Regions from separate parts of the Homo sapiens genome. Here regions 1 and 3 are each linked to region 2. Evidence: promoter capture Hi-C in 16 types of primary human blood cells and fetal thymus (Javierre and others, 2016). All regions are on one chromosome and are shown on one strand. Each heading gives the region's core, a stretch centred on a gene start or on the middle of the fragment in contact. The rest is flanking DNA. Distances are from core to core; before and after follow the strand shown.

Evidence for each region. Contacts are between HindIII fragments. The CHiCAGO score rates a contact against its expected background, and 5 or more counts as called.
Region 1: a contact is called between a fragment that was not itself captured here and the fragment with the promoter of RASSF3 in region 2, in 1 of 17 cell types (total CD4 T cells). The highest score is 5.4, in total CD4 T cells.
Region 3: a fragment that was not itself captured here is called in contact with the fragment with the promoter of RASSF3 in region 2 in 1 of 17 cell types (activated CD4 T cells); the score reaches 5.6 in activated CD4 T cells.

What each region holds. Positions count from the first base shown.
Region 1 is chr12:62,607,081-62,611,821 of GRCh38, forward strand. All of the region lies in intron 1 of MIRLET7IHG (MIRLET7I host gene), which reads left to right. Among named protein-coding and RNA genes, the nearest start is that of MIRLET7I, 5.8 kb to the left of the region's middle. The HindIII fragment of the contact is 1,819 bases long and covers 1,071-2,889 here.
Region 2 is chr12:64,608,295-64,612,781 of GRCh38, forward strand. RASSF3 (Ras association domain family member 3) reads left to right here and starts at 2,201. Exons shown (of 5, transcript NM_178169.4): 1 at 2,201-2,449. The coding sequence starts at 2,339. RASSF3-DT (RASSF3 divergent transcript) reads right to left here and starts at 1,172. Exons shown (of 2, transcript NR_187549.1): 1 at 1,051-1,172. RefSeq lists enhancers at 741-790, 1,011-1,070 and silencers at 1,701-1,770, 1,931-2,450, 2,661-2,730. The HindIII fragment of the contact is 11,544 bases long and covers 1-4,487 here.
Region 3 is chr12:62,303,451-62,308,311 of GRCh38, forward strand. All of the region lies in intron 3 of USP15 (ubiquitin specific peptidase 15), which reads left to right. Among named protein-coding and RNA genes, the nearest start is that of USP15, 45 kb to the left of the region's middle. The HindIII fragment of the contact is 816 bases long and covers 2,123-2,938 here.

The DNA.
Region 1 (4,741 bases), core at 730-3,229, 2.0 Mb before region 2:
AATAGTATAGTAATTTAGGGAGTTCTTTTGGTTAGGTTTGTTGCCTGAGATCTTGGAGATGACAATCGCAGTGATAATGATACTCTAGGTGATTTACAGTTTAGTTTCATATTATCTGCTACAAATACGCTGGGAGTGTCATCAGAATTAAAAGAAATATTAGCAGTTCTACATGGAATTTATGTGTTTTCTTATCTCAAGTTGAAAATTTTTTTTTTGGTTAAATTTGTTTTACATTTACCTTTCTTTAAAAGTGCTGTTTTGTTCAGATGTAATGGAATTGTGCCTACACAGGATTTTTGGCCACTAAATTTGTGAATAGGGTCCTTTAAAGGCATACTATTGACACCCGATAGTGTAACTTTAGTCTTTTAGTTATATCAAATATGAACAAACCTAAGACACAATCTTGTGTTTTTAAGGATAAGTTCCTAGTTCTTTCCTCTTATTCAACATCAAACAACACTTACAGAAAATATTATTTTCTTCGAATCAGGTTTACAAATTCCGTTAGTTCCATTATAATATAATTGAGAGTATTTTATCATGGAAGTCAGGAGTTCGCAGAAAGCCAAGCTGTGTGATATGTCACAGAAAATTCAAGTAAATTAAGGACTAAAAACTGTCCACAGACATTGACAGTTTAGATCATATATGTAGTTGTAATGTGTTTTCTGTTATACCTGAAAAATCCCTTAACTGCTCTTAGGTTGAGTAATAAACAATTAACGGGTGTTTTATCTCACTTTGAACATAACTACCAAAAAGGTATTAAGATTCAGAGATTGCTGTTTTAATATTCTGCACATAGTGTATTTTAAAGCCCTTGTTAAACAGAAGTATTATGTAGATACAGGCATGGGCTAGTTTTAGTCATAATAGTAACACTGACTTAATGTTACCGTAATAGATGGCCGAAAGAGTTGACTAAACTCTAAAAACAGATACATAAGCAAATTAAAGTATATTTTTCTGTTTTAAAAACAAATTTACATACTTTTTAAGAGTTCGGACGAAAAACCTAAGAATAAGAATCCTATCTGCCATTCATTTCTTTTTGTAGTGAATGAAGCTTATACAGAATAAATAAGTTCCAGATAAATTCAACAGGTGAATCGGATACCTGCTCTATGTCAGGTGCTGGGAATATACAGAAGATAAAACAAAAACAAACACAAAAAAACCAACTCCACATTATGGAATTCACATTGTAAAAGGAATACATTTCCCTATAATAATAATTACAGACATGTAGTGAGGACAATCCATGGGCCACCTGAGTTGTTTTCAAACCTGAGTTCCACTCATACACCTGTTCTAGAGCCCTTGCTCCAAAACCACTATTGATATTCCAGTTGTATGTTTTAAAAAAGCCATTTCCCATTGATTTTTGTTATAATTGTACCTATTTTTTTTAAAAAAAGATGATAATTTAGTTTCACCAGGGCTGTTTTCTTTCTTTCTTTTTTTTTTTTTGAGACGGAATCTTGCTCTTGTTGCCCAGGCTGGAGTACAATGGCACGATCTCGGCTCACTGCAACCTCCACCTCCCAGGTTCAAGCAATTCTCCTGCCTCAGCCTCCTAAGTAGCTGGGATTACAGGCGCCCGCCACCACGCCCAGCTAATGTTTGTATTTTTAGTAGAGATGAGGTTTCACCGTGTTGGCCAGGCTGGTCTCGAACTGCTGACCTCATGATCCGCCCACCTTGGCCTCCCAAAGTGCTGGTATTACAGGCAAGAGCCACCGCGCCTGGTCAGCCAGGGCTGTTTTCTATCTCCTAAACAGGATAACACTGCAGGAGGTACTTCACCTTTAAGAGCTTACAATGTTGTAGCAAGTGCCCAACTACCTTGTGGAGGAATCTAGACCCCATAGCCAGACATCACATTTTATGATGTACACTCTAAACATGGTAAAAGTTCAAAGAAGCAGGAGTGCACTGTGAGTAGGTAGAGAATGCATCTCTCTGGAGCAGAAACGTCAGATTATTTTAACAGTATAAGCTATGGAGAGCGATTATGAGCCTTGTGGTGCCTGAGAACAGGAAAGAAAGAAGTATCCTACCTTCCTTATATAATTTATACCTCGGGGTAACTAAATGGTTGTGAGGGAGATTTCCTCATTACAGAATAATTCCAGTTTCACAGTGCAGAACGTCTGATAGAATGTTAACATTTACAACAGCTCATGAAATAAAGCTAGACCTCTTCAATGGCTAACTTAATGGTTGAAACCATTAAGTAAAATGCTGATGGAGAAGTATGTGATTAATGAATCAGTAGTAGAGAAGTATTTAATTCATGGATCAGGGCAACCGCACTTCAACTCACTGATCAATTTTAATATTACAAAAACAGATAACTAGATATTCTAGTTCAAATAATTGAACTAGATAGTGGTTTACTAAGACTCTAGACTCTCATCAAGTTTCTAGATCTGATGAGTAGTTTATTAGAAATTTAAGATATAGGGGAACATTGTTAAATCACCACAGGAGCACAAGTAGCAAAAATCCACACTGAAATTCTATAAGACAAATGATCTAAGGAAAAAAAATTTTTAAGGAAAGAAGGGCAGGAAAACCTGTAGAGTAAAATGAATTTAAAGATATTTATCGGTTTAATTGCAATGTATAGACCTTGTTTGGATCCTAATTTGATCAAAGCTAACCACAAACACATTTATGAGACAATTGGAGAAATTTTAAAACTGACTGAATATTAGAAGTTAAAGAATTGTTTTTGAAAATGGTATTGTGGTTATAGTTTTTAAAAATCTTTTGGTATATGCATACTAAATAATTTACTAATGAATGATATGATCGGACTTTGCTTCATACTTTAATCCATGGGGGATGGGAAGCATATATGGGAGTACACAGGAAAGAAGCTTGTCTTAGTGTTGGTATTGATGATGGGTGATGGGTAGATGGGTTTTTTTATTCTGTTCTACTTTTGTGTATATTTAGAATGTTCCATAATAAAAACTCAAAAACACGTAAAACAAGACAAAGAAAGATTCCTGTGGTTTGGAGACAACCAAAGCAAAGTGAGAACACATACAAAACCATGTGAAGGTCAGTAAGGTGCAGCTAAGTGTTCTTAGGGTATCCTCCCAGGCCACTTTGAAATACTACCTTGAAGTCTATCAGAGGATCAGTCCATTTTCCTTATACTCCAGATCAAATATATTGACTAATATAGTGCAAGTTCACACATACCCACAACAAGGATACCATTGTTTAAATATATCTATTATAATTAAAACTAGTAATTAGAATTAATAAGAGATGTGTTGAGAACTTTTACTAAGTACTTTGTATGTATAAAGTACTTGCTTTAATGTTAGCCTATTAAACTTAATAACTTTCCATTTTAAATATTATTTTTCTAGTTCCATAGTCTTTTTCTAGAAGTATGCCTTATTTCACATTCTTAAACAAGTACTCTAAGCAAAATCAGCTCACTAAAAAAATTTGTTTGGCTTTAACTGCTTTCAATAAGCTTAGTTCTGTTTTTCCTCTTTTATTTTGTTATTCCTCCTGTCTAACTGAAACTTTGTACCCTTTAGCCAACATCTCCCCAGTACCTTACCCCCTCTGTCTATAAGCCCCTGGTAACACTATTCTCTCCTTTCTGCTTCTCTGAGTTTGACTTTTTTATATTCCACATATAAATGAGATCATGTAGTATTTGTCTTTCTATGCCTGGCTTATTTAGTGTAATGTCCTCCAAGTTTAAACATGTCGTTGCAAATGATAGAATGTTTGTCCTTTTAAATGGAACTCTAATAATTGTTCTAGCAATTTATTCGATTTTTTGTTTCCAGTTAGATTCCTTTTTTCTTAACCTTCTTTGTGTGTGTGTGTGTGTGTGTGTGTGTGTGTGTGTGTGTTTAGACAGGGTCTCACTGTCATCCAGGCTGGAGTGCAGTGGCGTGGTCACAGCTCACTGCAACCTTCAACTCCCAGGCTCAAGCGATCTTTCCACCTCAGCCTCCTGAGTAGCTAAGACTACAGGCACACGCCACCACCCCTGGCTAATTTTTGTATTTTTTGTAGAGACAGGGTTTTGCCATGTTGCCCAGGCTGGTCTCAAAACTACAGGGCTCAATTGATCGCCCACCTCCGTCTCCCAAAGTGCTGGGATTATAGGTGTGAGCCACCGCGCCCAGCCCCCATCAATATATGTTAACACTTAGCAGTTAGTTCATTGTGCATCTACATATTACCAGTGTTATTAATCTAATTTAAATATTTAACTGAGTGCTGTTACTGCTTTGAATATATTAGCACACTACAAAGGTAAAAAAATATAACCAACCTGTGGATCAAAAGAAACAATGATTTTGCATTTTACTAAGCACAGAAATTATCATGTTTTTGAATGTGTACCACAAATGCCAGGCATACACACACATATATAAATAAGGTTGAAGGAGGCCGGGCGCGGTGGCTCACGCCTGTAATCCCAGCACTTTGAGAGGCCGAGGCAGGTGGATTACTTGAGGTCAGGAATTCGAGAGCAGCCTGGCCAACATGGTGAAACCTGGTCTCTACTAAAAATACAAAAAATTAGCCGGGCATGATGGTGCATGCCTGTAGTCCCAGCTACTGGGGAGGCTGAGGCAGGAGAATCGCTTAAACCCCAGAGGTGGAGGTTGCAGTGAGCTGAGATCGTGCCACTGCACTTCAGCCTGGGTGACAGAGTGAGACTCTATCTAAAATATATATATATATA
Region 2 (4,487 bases), core at 951-3,450:
TTTTATGGTGTGGTGCATCATAAAGTTTATTTATTTATTTATTGAGACGAAGTTTTGCTCTTGTCGCCCAGACTGGAGTGCAATGGCGCCACCTCGGGTCACTGCAACCTAGGCCACTCCGGGTTCAAGCGATTCTCCTGCCTCAGCCTCCCGAGTAGCTGGCGCACGCTACCACGCCCAACTAATTTTTGTAGTTTTAGTAGAGGCGGGGTTTCACCACGTTGGCCAGGCTGGTTTCCAACTCCTGACCTCAAGTGATCCACCCGCCTCTGCCTCCTCAGGCGTGAGCCATCGCGCCCGGCCAATAAAGCATTTTAATGCATTTTTCCTCAAAGTATTCATAAACTTCAACTTGTTCTAGGTAAAATTATTTTCCCCTTTCTACCCACAATAAAATGAGTAATTTAAGCCCTTAACCTACACATTATTCTTACCTTGGAATATTTAATAAGAGCTGCGCTAATATTATATCTGAATAATGAAATAAGAGAAACCAAATAAGAAAAATTTGTCATAAAGCCCTATTCTCCTACATTAGATTATGTGCATGGCACACACACGGATCAGCTTAAGCTGGGTGAAACTATATGGAGTTAGAATTCCTGGCTTCCTATCATTCAGTAGCTGTGTGGCCGAGAAGAAGACTTTAATGTTGTAGGACCTTTAAAATGGGCTGTAACTCAAAGGCCCTCCTTCTGGAGTTGTTGTGAATCACGTGGGGTAATATATACTAGTTTACAAGATGGATGTGTAAGCCCGAAGGTGGAGCAGGTTTGCAAGCCTTCTTTCAGCCTAGGGACAGTAGGATGACTCATGAGTCAATTCTTCTCTCCTTCCCGTCATTTCGGGTCCAACTCTTCCTCCTGTAGTCCACAAAAGAGCACGGCTGACCGATACCAAGCAGAGAACCCAGTAGGGTATGTGACCACGTTCAGATCAACAGAACGCAAAGCAGAACGGTCCGAGTACTGCCTCCTACAGCCACTTTCCTTTCTTTAAGCCTCAGCTGCTGCTCTAGGTGTAAAACCGGCATAAAATAGCACTACGTACCTTGCAGAGTTGCTCGGAGGATTGAAGGAGATAATGTAAGAGAGTTTGGCTAGTTTGGCTATGATGGATGGACATTTTCTCTTTTCTAACGTCTCTCTTCCCCTCCTAATGAAACCTCTTCTGAAGCTCGCTAACTATAGCAGGGCTTGCAGCTTCAAAAAAACCTTTCAGTCAAGATCTTGAAATTAGTATTATTTAAATCAGTGCAGTAACACCAAGGTGTAAAAGACTGTTACCCACTGGTGGCTTTAAGAGGATTAGCTGACTGAAGAGTTTTAGAAAACATGGAAACTTTTTTTGTACGTGGATGGATGGAATTCCCTGATCTCCTTATCCCCACCACTTAAACCATGCCTTGTGGGTGACCGTGGAAGGCTGATTGTGGCGGGGACATTTACAAAGCACATTTAATTGATAAGCACTCGATTGTTCTGTAACTATAGAACTAGTTCACCTTTCAGTTGCACTGAGTGCGCCTAAGATAACGATCTTATTTGGAAGTGAGCCCTCGCTAGAAAGAAGGGGAAAAGGGTAAGACCGAAGCTCAAATGAATGACCAGAAAGGATGTTTTCATTCGAATAAACTCAACCCAGTTTTTGACCTCCCCACCCATCTCTGCCAACTTGAAATCCTCCTGGAGGGGCGAGCTGCTGGGGTTCAGGACTGGGCGTTGCGGCTGCAGGAAGCCGTGGGACCTGGGGGGTCCCTCGGCCGGGCAACCCCCACCCACCCCTACAGGACCCTGGTGCGGGGGCGAGCAGGGAGTGGACGCAGAGAAAGTTCCCCGCTCTGCTCCCGCCCTCTCCGAAACTCGAGCCAGCGAGGCTGGGGGCGGGCGGACGGCTCGCAGAGGAATTTGCAGTTTCCGGGAGGTTGAGGAAGCGACCCGAGCACAGCCCCAGCAGACGCAGCCCTAGCGCCCGGCTTTCCGGGTTCCGCGACGCTGTCGGGAGAAACCCGCGCGCCTGGAAGGGGCGGGCCGGGCTCCCCCCACCTGCGGGCGGGCGGGGAGGGTCGCGGCCGCGCGGGGTGGGGCTCGGCCGGTCGCCCGTCCGGGGCGGGGCCCAGGGAGGCGGGGTCGCGGGCGCACCGGGGCCGAGCCGCGCCTGGAGCCTGGCGGGGAGGCGGCAGGAGGGGCCGGGAGAGCCTGATTGAGCGGCGGCCGCAGCTGCATAAGGACTGCCCGGGGCTGCGCGCCGGGAACCTCGCGGGGCTGGCGGGCGCCGCACCCCCTCCCTGGCCGCCTGCGCCCCGGGGAGGCCGCCCGCGCGCGACGGGACCGGCAGCATGAGCAGCGGCTACAGCAGCCTGGAGGAGGACGCCGAGGACTTCTTCTTCACCGCCAGGACCTCCTTCTTCAGGAGAGCGCCCCAGGGCAAGCCCCGCTCCGGCCAACAAGTGAGTGGCGCGCGGCGGGCGCTGCAGCCCGCGCCCCAGAGTTCCGGGGAACCCGCCAGCCCGCGCCCCCTGCCTCCACGTGTCTCTGCGGGGCGCTCGGGGGATGCTCGCCGGGAAGGAGGAGCGGGCCGAGAAGTGGCTTCTGCCTTTTCGGGTCCCGGGAACGTGCCTGGAGCTTGTGCGTGTAGGCGAGGGAAGGCGGAGGAAGGGCGGGGAGGCTGAGGGCCGGCTTCTGCCTTCCGCGCCAGATGGCCTCTGCAGCTCCGCCTCGGGCTGCCGCCTGCGGGGAGCAGCCCCGGAGCCAGCAGGCGTCCCCGGGCCACTCCCCCAGGTTTCCCCTTCGCGTCCCCGCTGGGTCGACGGTCGGGTTCGCGCGCCTGTCCTTCCTGTTAGTCAGCTTACTCATCTGTGGCCCCCAGAGTGGCTTGGGTCAACGTGTAATAGCTAGGGGTGGCCGGGTGACCTGACCTCCCCTCTTCCTGGCCCGGGCGACCTGGTGGAGTGGGGGTCCAAGGGCACCGTGGGCCTCGCCACCATAGGCTCTCACTAAATCTCCGTTGCGGGACTCAGGGTTGTGCGTTTTCTGTAAAGCTAGGTTTTTTGGTGCCCAGATGTTTTGCAAACAAGCTCCTATGCTAAATACTAGCCAGCGACAGCTAACCTTTTCGCCGGTTTCTTCCTTTTTTGGAGGCAGCATGCCGTGGGAAGCACGAGTTGGGAAAAGATGGGAAGGGAACTTGTGCCAGTTTCGCCAGCTGTAGCCGTGTTTTTTGGGAGGCCTTCCCGAAACGGGGCACGTCGGCTGGACTGAGGAGCCCGGTGCTAGAGCCCGCGGCCTCCTGGCACTAGGAGCCGCACCAGGGGAGCCGGGCCAACCCGGCCACGCTCACATCAGATTACAGAAGATTGTAATGGCACAAATTTGTTGCTTTTAGAAAACAGGCGTTCGCCAAACATTTCTATTAATACCGGACTGAGACCTAGAGACTAGAAGCAAGAAGAATCGTTCAGGGGCCGGATGATAACTTCTTTTGGTGGATGTGGGAGGGTGCAATCTGTCAGGGTGGTCTTGCCAGACCTCTTAAGTTTAGCCACTTTCTGAAGTAAAATTCTTTCTAAAATTCGGAAGTTCTAGTCTTTTCAGGCTCTTAAGTCCCAAACCAGGAGGAGGAGAGGAGACGGTGAAGGGTAAGCTGAAGTCAAGTGCCCTTATTCAGTAACCGCAGTTAATCTCAAGTCCCGGTGCCATAGTTGTCCGTCTTGTATTGTTTCTAAGGCTTAAGGCCCCACTATTTACGAGTCACTTTGAGTGGGATCTCTTACTTTCAGCAGAGTGTGTTCTGAGAGCATGAGATTGCTGTGAAGTTTGGAAGTTGGAAACGCCCTCTCCTCCCCCATGCCCACCCTCCCTGGGTTGTAGAAAAATTGCATTTGCTTATGCTTTTTCCATTTTTGCTTTCTCTTTCTTGGCCTCTCTCTTCCCCTTCTCCGTTTTGCATTTTCTCCTTTCATTTATGTTGCTTTCACCACTTGACATGAAAAGGAACTCATGGTAGTTTGAAGTTTATTCCAGAGGTGTCTGCTAATCTCCTGAAAACTGGCTGGTTCTTGGATTCTCCAGGGGTGAGATGCCACAAGGGCCAAACTATTCAGGTTTGAATTGTATGAGAATCCTTTAGTGCTTTAAAGAGTAAAGACATCAGTTTTTTTCTAGGTTTATATGCATTTAGCGTTTCTTTTTTTTTTTTTTTTTTTGAGATGGAGTCTCACTGTGTTACCCAGGCTGGAGTGCAGTCGTGTGATCTCACTGCAACCTCAGCTTCCCTGGTTCAAGCGATTCCCTTGCCTCAGCTTCCCGAGTAGCTGAGATTACAGGCATGCACCACCACATCTGGCTCATTTTTGTATTTTTAGTAGAGATGGGATTTAACCATGTTGGCCAGGCTGGTCTCGAACTCCTGGCCTCAGGTAATCTGCCCGCCTTGGCCTCCCAAAGTGCAGGGATTACAGATGTGAGCCACCGCCCCCGGCACATTTA
Region 3 (4,861 bases), core at 1,281-3,780, 2.3 Mb before region 2:
TAAGGGTGTTGCTGTAGTAGAATACCAAATATTCAAGGTAAATGAGTGAACCTTACACATGTATTTGATCATTTATTGTAGGAGGGGTGGGAGGCTGAGAAGGGACCAAAATCTCTTGGCATAATTTTGTATCTGGTTTGGGTCCCCCGACCCTCCCCCCATCCCCCGCCACATAGAAACAATTAAAAAGTTGGATTAGGTAACATAAGGGTAAAAAAACCTCTAGTAGACCTAACTATATTTGAATTTATTTGGAATTGATGCTACAAAGTTGCCATGTTAACAATTTGTATTTGTGTATCCATGGTTTTAGGTATATTAGAAGCTAACCTTGGATCTTATTTTCTGAATAGATCTTGAATGTACCTTTTATTTATTTTTGTTTAGTTTTATTCCTTAGTTTCACTCAGCCACTTCAAAATTAGAATTTCTCTGTTGTAGGAATGCTAGCCTTATAGATCTGTGAAATGATCTAGTTGCTTTATCTATAGTTGCTGGAGAATTGAGTGTTTTGATCAAAGGTAGCCTATTTAGCTGTAAAACTGTCTAGAATTATTTCATTCCTAGGATAAAGGAAAATTTGTGTCCAAAATATCTCTAAAGGTATTACACTGTATTCCTTTAATCTTAATGATACACTTTTTTTTCTTATAAATGTAGCACATTATACACTAGCGGTCTTCAGTATGATAAACAGATCAACTACCAATTTCATTGCCATTACTCTTTGAAATAGTCCTCATTGAGAGTTCTTGAAACCTGTGTCTAATAACAAAGTAAAATATAATCAAAAATTTCACACAAGTAGAAGAAAAAACATTGACAAATCTCTTGGGAGACCACATACTTATTTTTAACAAGATGAATGAAATATATTCAACCTGTAAAATAGTTTGCAAATGTTCATGTGCTATATTACATTGCGTGGAGTTCTTATTACAGATGCAATTTCCTACAACATTAAATCTGCAGTAAAATTTAATTAATCACACTTAAATTTGGGAATTTCATTTGCATTTTCACTGTGGCCCACATGACTGATGCAGGTGGAACTCAAAGAAGTAAATAGACCAGCTTATAGTGTCTGAAGCCCAACTTTCAATGTTACCCATCTCTGATTGCATTAAAGAATCTAGGATTGGTGGTTCCCCTAGCTATAATGCAGAAACCAAGTTAAACATCTTCCTGTACCTCAAAGATCTCTAAAATGCGTCATTTATAGTGTCAACACTCAAAGAATGGACGAAAAGAAAGCAAGGATATAAGCAGAAAATACGATGGAATCAAAATCCAAGAGAAACAGCAGACAATAGAAACAGACCCATAAGAAACCCAGGTAATTGAGTTAGTAGATTTTAGAATAGTGGGCTTATTATGCTTAAAAAAAAAAAAAAAGGCAGATGAGAAGTAGGGCAAAACTATTAAAGAAGAAGCAAATAGAATTCTAAAACTAATAATATGGAAATTTTATGGATTTAATGTTTGGGAATAAAATTATTAGACCAAACAGAACTGAAGAGAAAATTTGTAAACTAAATGATTTGTCAATAGAAAATATAGAGTCTAAAGCTTAGAGAGACAAAAGAATAGAAAATACAGAAAAAAGCTAAGGCATAAATGGAATGCAGTAAGTAAGTTTAACATGCATACATATAGTTGGAATCTTGGAGAGGAAAGAAAGAGTGGGTAGAACTAATACCAAAGGACGTAATAGCTGAGAATTTTCCCAAACTGAGAAAGGTGTCATGCTTTAAAGAAATGCTATGAATCCCAAACTGAAATAATACAAACAAAACTGTACCTAGTACAAATGTTGAAAAGCAAAGGCAAAAAAATTTCTAATAATAGCCAGAGAAAAAGACATGTTATCTTCAAAATAAGGATAAGACAAAATAATGATTTCTCAAGAGAAACCATGGAAGCCAGAAAACAATGGACTTTGATATGTTAAAAGAAAATAACTGCCAATGTAGGATTCTGTGACTAAGAAAATAATCCTTCAGGGATGAAGGTGAAAAAAGCCATTTTCAAATGAAAACTAATAGAATTTGTTACCTGCAGACGTGTATTAAAGGCACTACAAAATAATCTTAAGAATGGAAGGAAAATTATTCCAGATGAAAGCTTGGAGATGCAGGAAAACAGTGTAGACTGACAAAATGTAAATGTTGTGAGTAAGTCTTAAGATGGACTGTTGAAAACATTAATAATAATTTTTATGGAGTTGAAAATGTGTATAGAATTAACTACACAATAGTGTTAGCATGTAAGTTAAGATAATATTCTCTACTATGTTCCCTGGTGATCCCCAGCTCCTCATATCCATATTCTTGGGCACTCTTCTTCCATGTTGTACTGAGGTTGGTCTGTGTGGCCAATAGCATATAGCAGTACTCATGGTACATCGCTTTCGAGATTAGGTTATAAAAAAACACCGCGGCTTACATCTTGGGTGCACACGCACTCTAGCTGTCTCTCTTTCTCATTTCTCACTCGGGGAATTCAACTGCATATGGCGAGGACACTCAGGCAGCCTATGGAGAGGCCCACATGGTGAGGAACTGAGATCTCTGGCCAATAGAGAGGAACGGAGGCCTGCAACAACCATGTGAGTGACCTTGGAAGTGGATCCTTTAGTTCTAGTTTAGCTTTCAGATGATTGAAACCCCAGCCATACCTTGAGAGCAACCTCATGAGAAACTCTACACCAAATCAACCCAGTTAAGCTGCTCCCAGATTCTTGACCCTCAGAAACATTGTGAGATAATGTTTGCTGTGTTAAGCTGGTAAATTTTGGGGTAATTTATTATGCAGCAATAGATAACTAATACTAATCATGGTACCTGTAAATAGGTGCTGATATGAAAACTTGAAATGTGGCGTGGCTTTGGAGCTGACAGTGAATAGAGGTTGTCAGAACTTTAAGAGTATCAATGAAAGCTTAAAGGGCCTTAAACAAACCGTTAGTAGATTACTAGACTTTGAGATAGCTGCCAGTGAGAACTTGAAGTGAGGAAAGTCTTACTGGAAACTGGTAGAAAGTGGTCTTTGTTATACAGTGGTAGAGTAAGTTTAGCAACATGTTGCCTGCAGTAAACTGAAAGGTTAAAGATAGTATTTAATGAAATTATAGGTCTGCCAAAGTGTTAAAAGTACTGCCTAGTTTCTTTTTGTGTTGGTTATAGTCAGATGTGAGAGAAGAGAAATACACTAAAGAAAGGATTGTTCAATAAAACAGAGCCAATATTTACTAGTTTTGAAGATTCCTAGTCCCTCCAGATGGCAAACGGTGCTAATACTAAGCAGTGTTTCTGAGCAAAGATAAAACTCAGAGTATTCTCAGAAAAAAAGTGTGATCTAATCTGGCAGCCAAGGGTGTGACTGTAAGTTACCTCAGAAAAATCAAAGGTCATGCCTCACAGTACTATTCAGACAAAAGGCCCTATAAAGTATTTAAGGGTTAACTTAGAGGTTGTCCTGTCAGTAGTAATATTAATTAATATTAAGGGTGTCTTCTCAATATGTGGCTTCTAAGAACAGGAGGGCTTCAAGAAGCTTACGGGCAACCCCTTAGCTTTCTCAGCATAAAGCCAAAGTAGAGAGGACTTATCCTACAGAACATTTGTGGATATGGCTTTTGTCTAATGGAATGAACTCCAGTAAGATCCAGTGGAGACCTACATTGTTTTCGAATTACCTCGCAGAACCACTGCCATTTTGGACTGCAGAAGCAGTATTAAATGAAAGACGCCTTTGACCTCCCAAACTCCAATAAGTAGGAATCAGGCTGAAAATTTACTTAACTTCAAGCATGTGCTAATGCATGAAAAAAGGATGACTCAGAGAACAGAACCAAATGTTAGATAGAATAATTTTCAGGCAAGGGTAGAACTGAGTTCCAGTCAAGGAATTTCTAGTATTTGTCCAGGTAGATTTCATAATCGTTATGGACCATTGATTCCTTTGTACGTCCTATTTCCCCTCTTACAAAACAGGAATATTTAAAAGGCTATGTTCTGTGTGCTTCATTGTTTTATTTTGGGTGTATGGGGGGCAGAAAACTTGTCTCTTAGTTCACAGGCCTATACATCAAGAGGCACTACAGTAGTCCCCCTTATCTATGGTTTTGCTTTCCGCGATTTCAGTTACCTGCAAGCAACCATGGTCCAAAAATATTAAGTGGGAAATTCTGGAAATAAACAATTCGTGAGTTTTAAATTGTGCACCATTCTGAGTAACATGATGCCATCCCACTCCATGTCCTCCCCATGGACACTATACACTACCTTCCCGTTTGTCACTTAGTAGCCATCTTGGTTATCAATCTACTGTCACAGTGCTTTGTTGAAGGGCATTAGTAGCATAATGCAGCGTTACAATGTACATCATTCACTTCACCTCTTCTCATCAGGTAGACATTTAATCATCTCATATCATTACAAGAAAAAGGGTGAGTACAATATGATAAGCTACCTTGAGAGACCACATACACATAACCTTTATTATAGTATATTGTTCTAATTGTTCTATTTTATTATTAGCTATTGTTAATCTCTTAGTGTGCGTAATTAATAAATTAAACTTCGTCATAGGTATGTATGTTTGTAAAGGAAAAAACATAGTGAATATAGGGATTAGTGTGCTATTTGTAGTTTCAGGCATCCACTAGGGGTCTCGGAATATATGTCTTCAAAGGCTTATAGAAAATTTATAATTTGTCAATTATAGATGACAAATTTCTGAACTCCAGGTTGCTAAAATGAATTGAGACTAGTTGGGGCCTTTGGAAGAACTGAGTGTATTTTGTATTTTGGGGGAAGGAACTGTGAATCATTGGGGGCCAGGGGGTAGACTGTGGTAG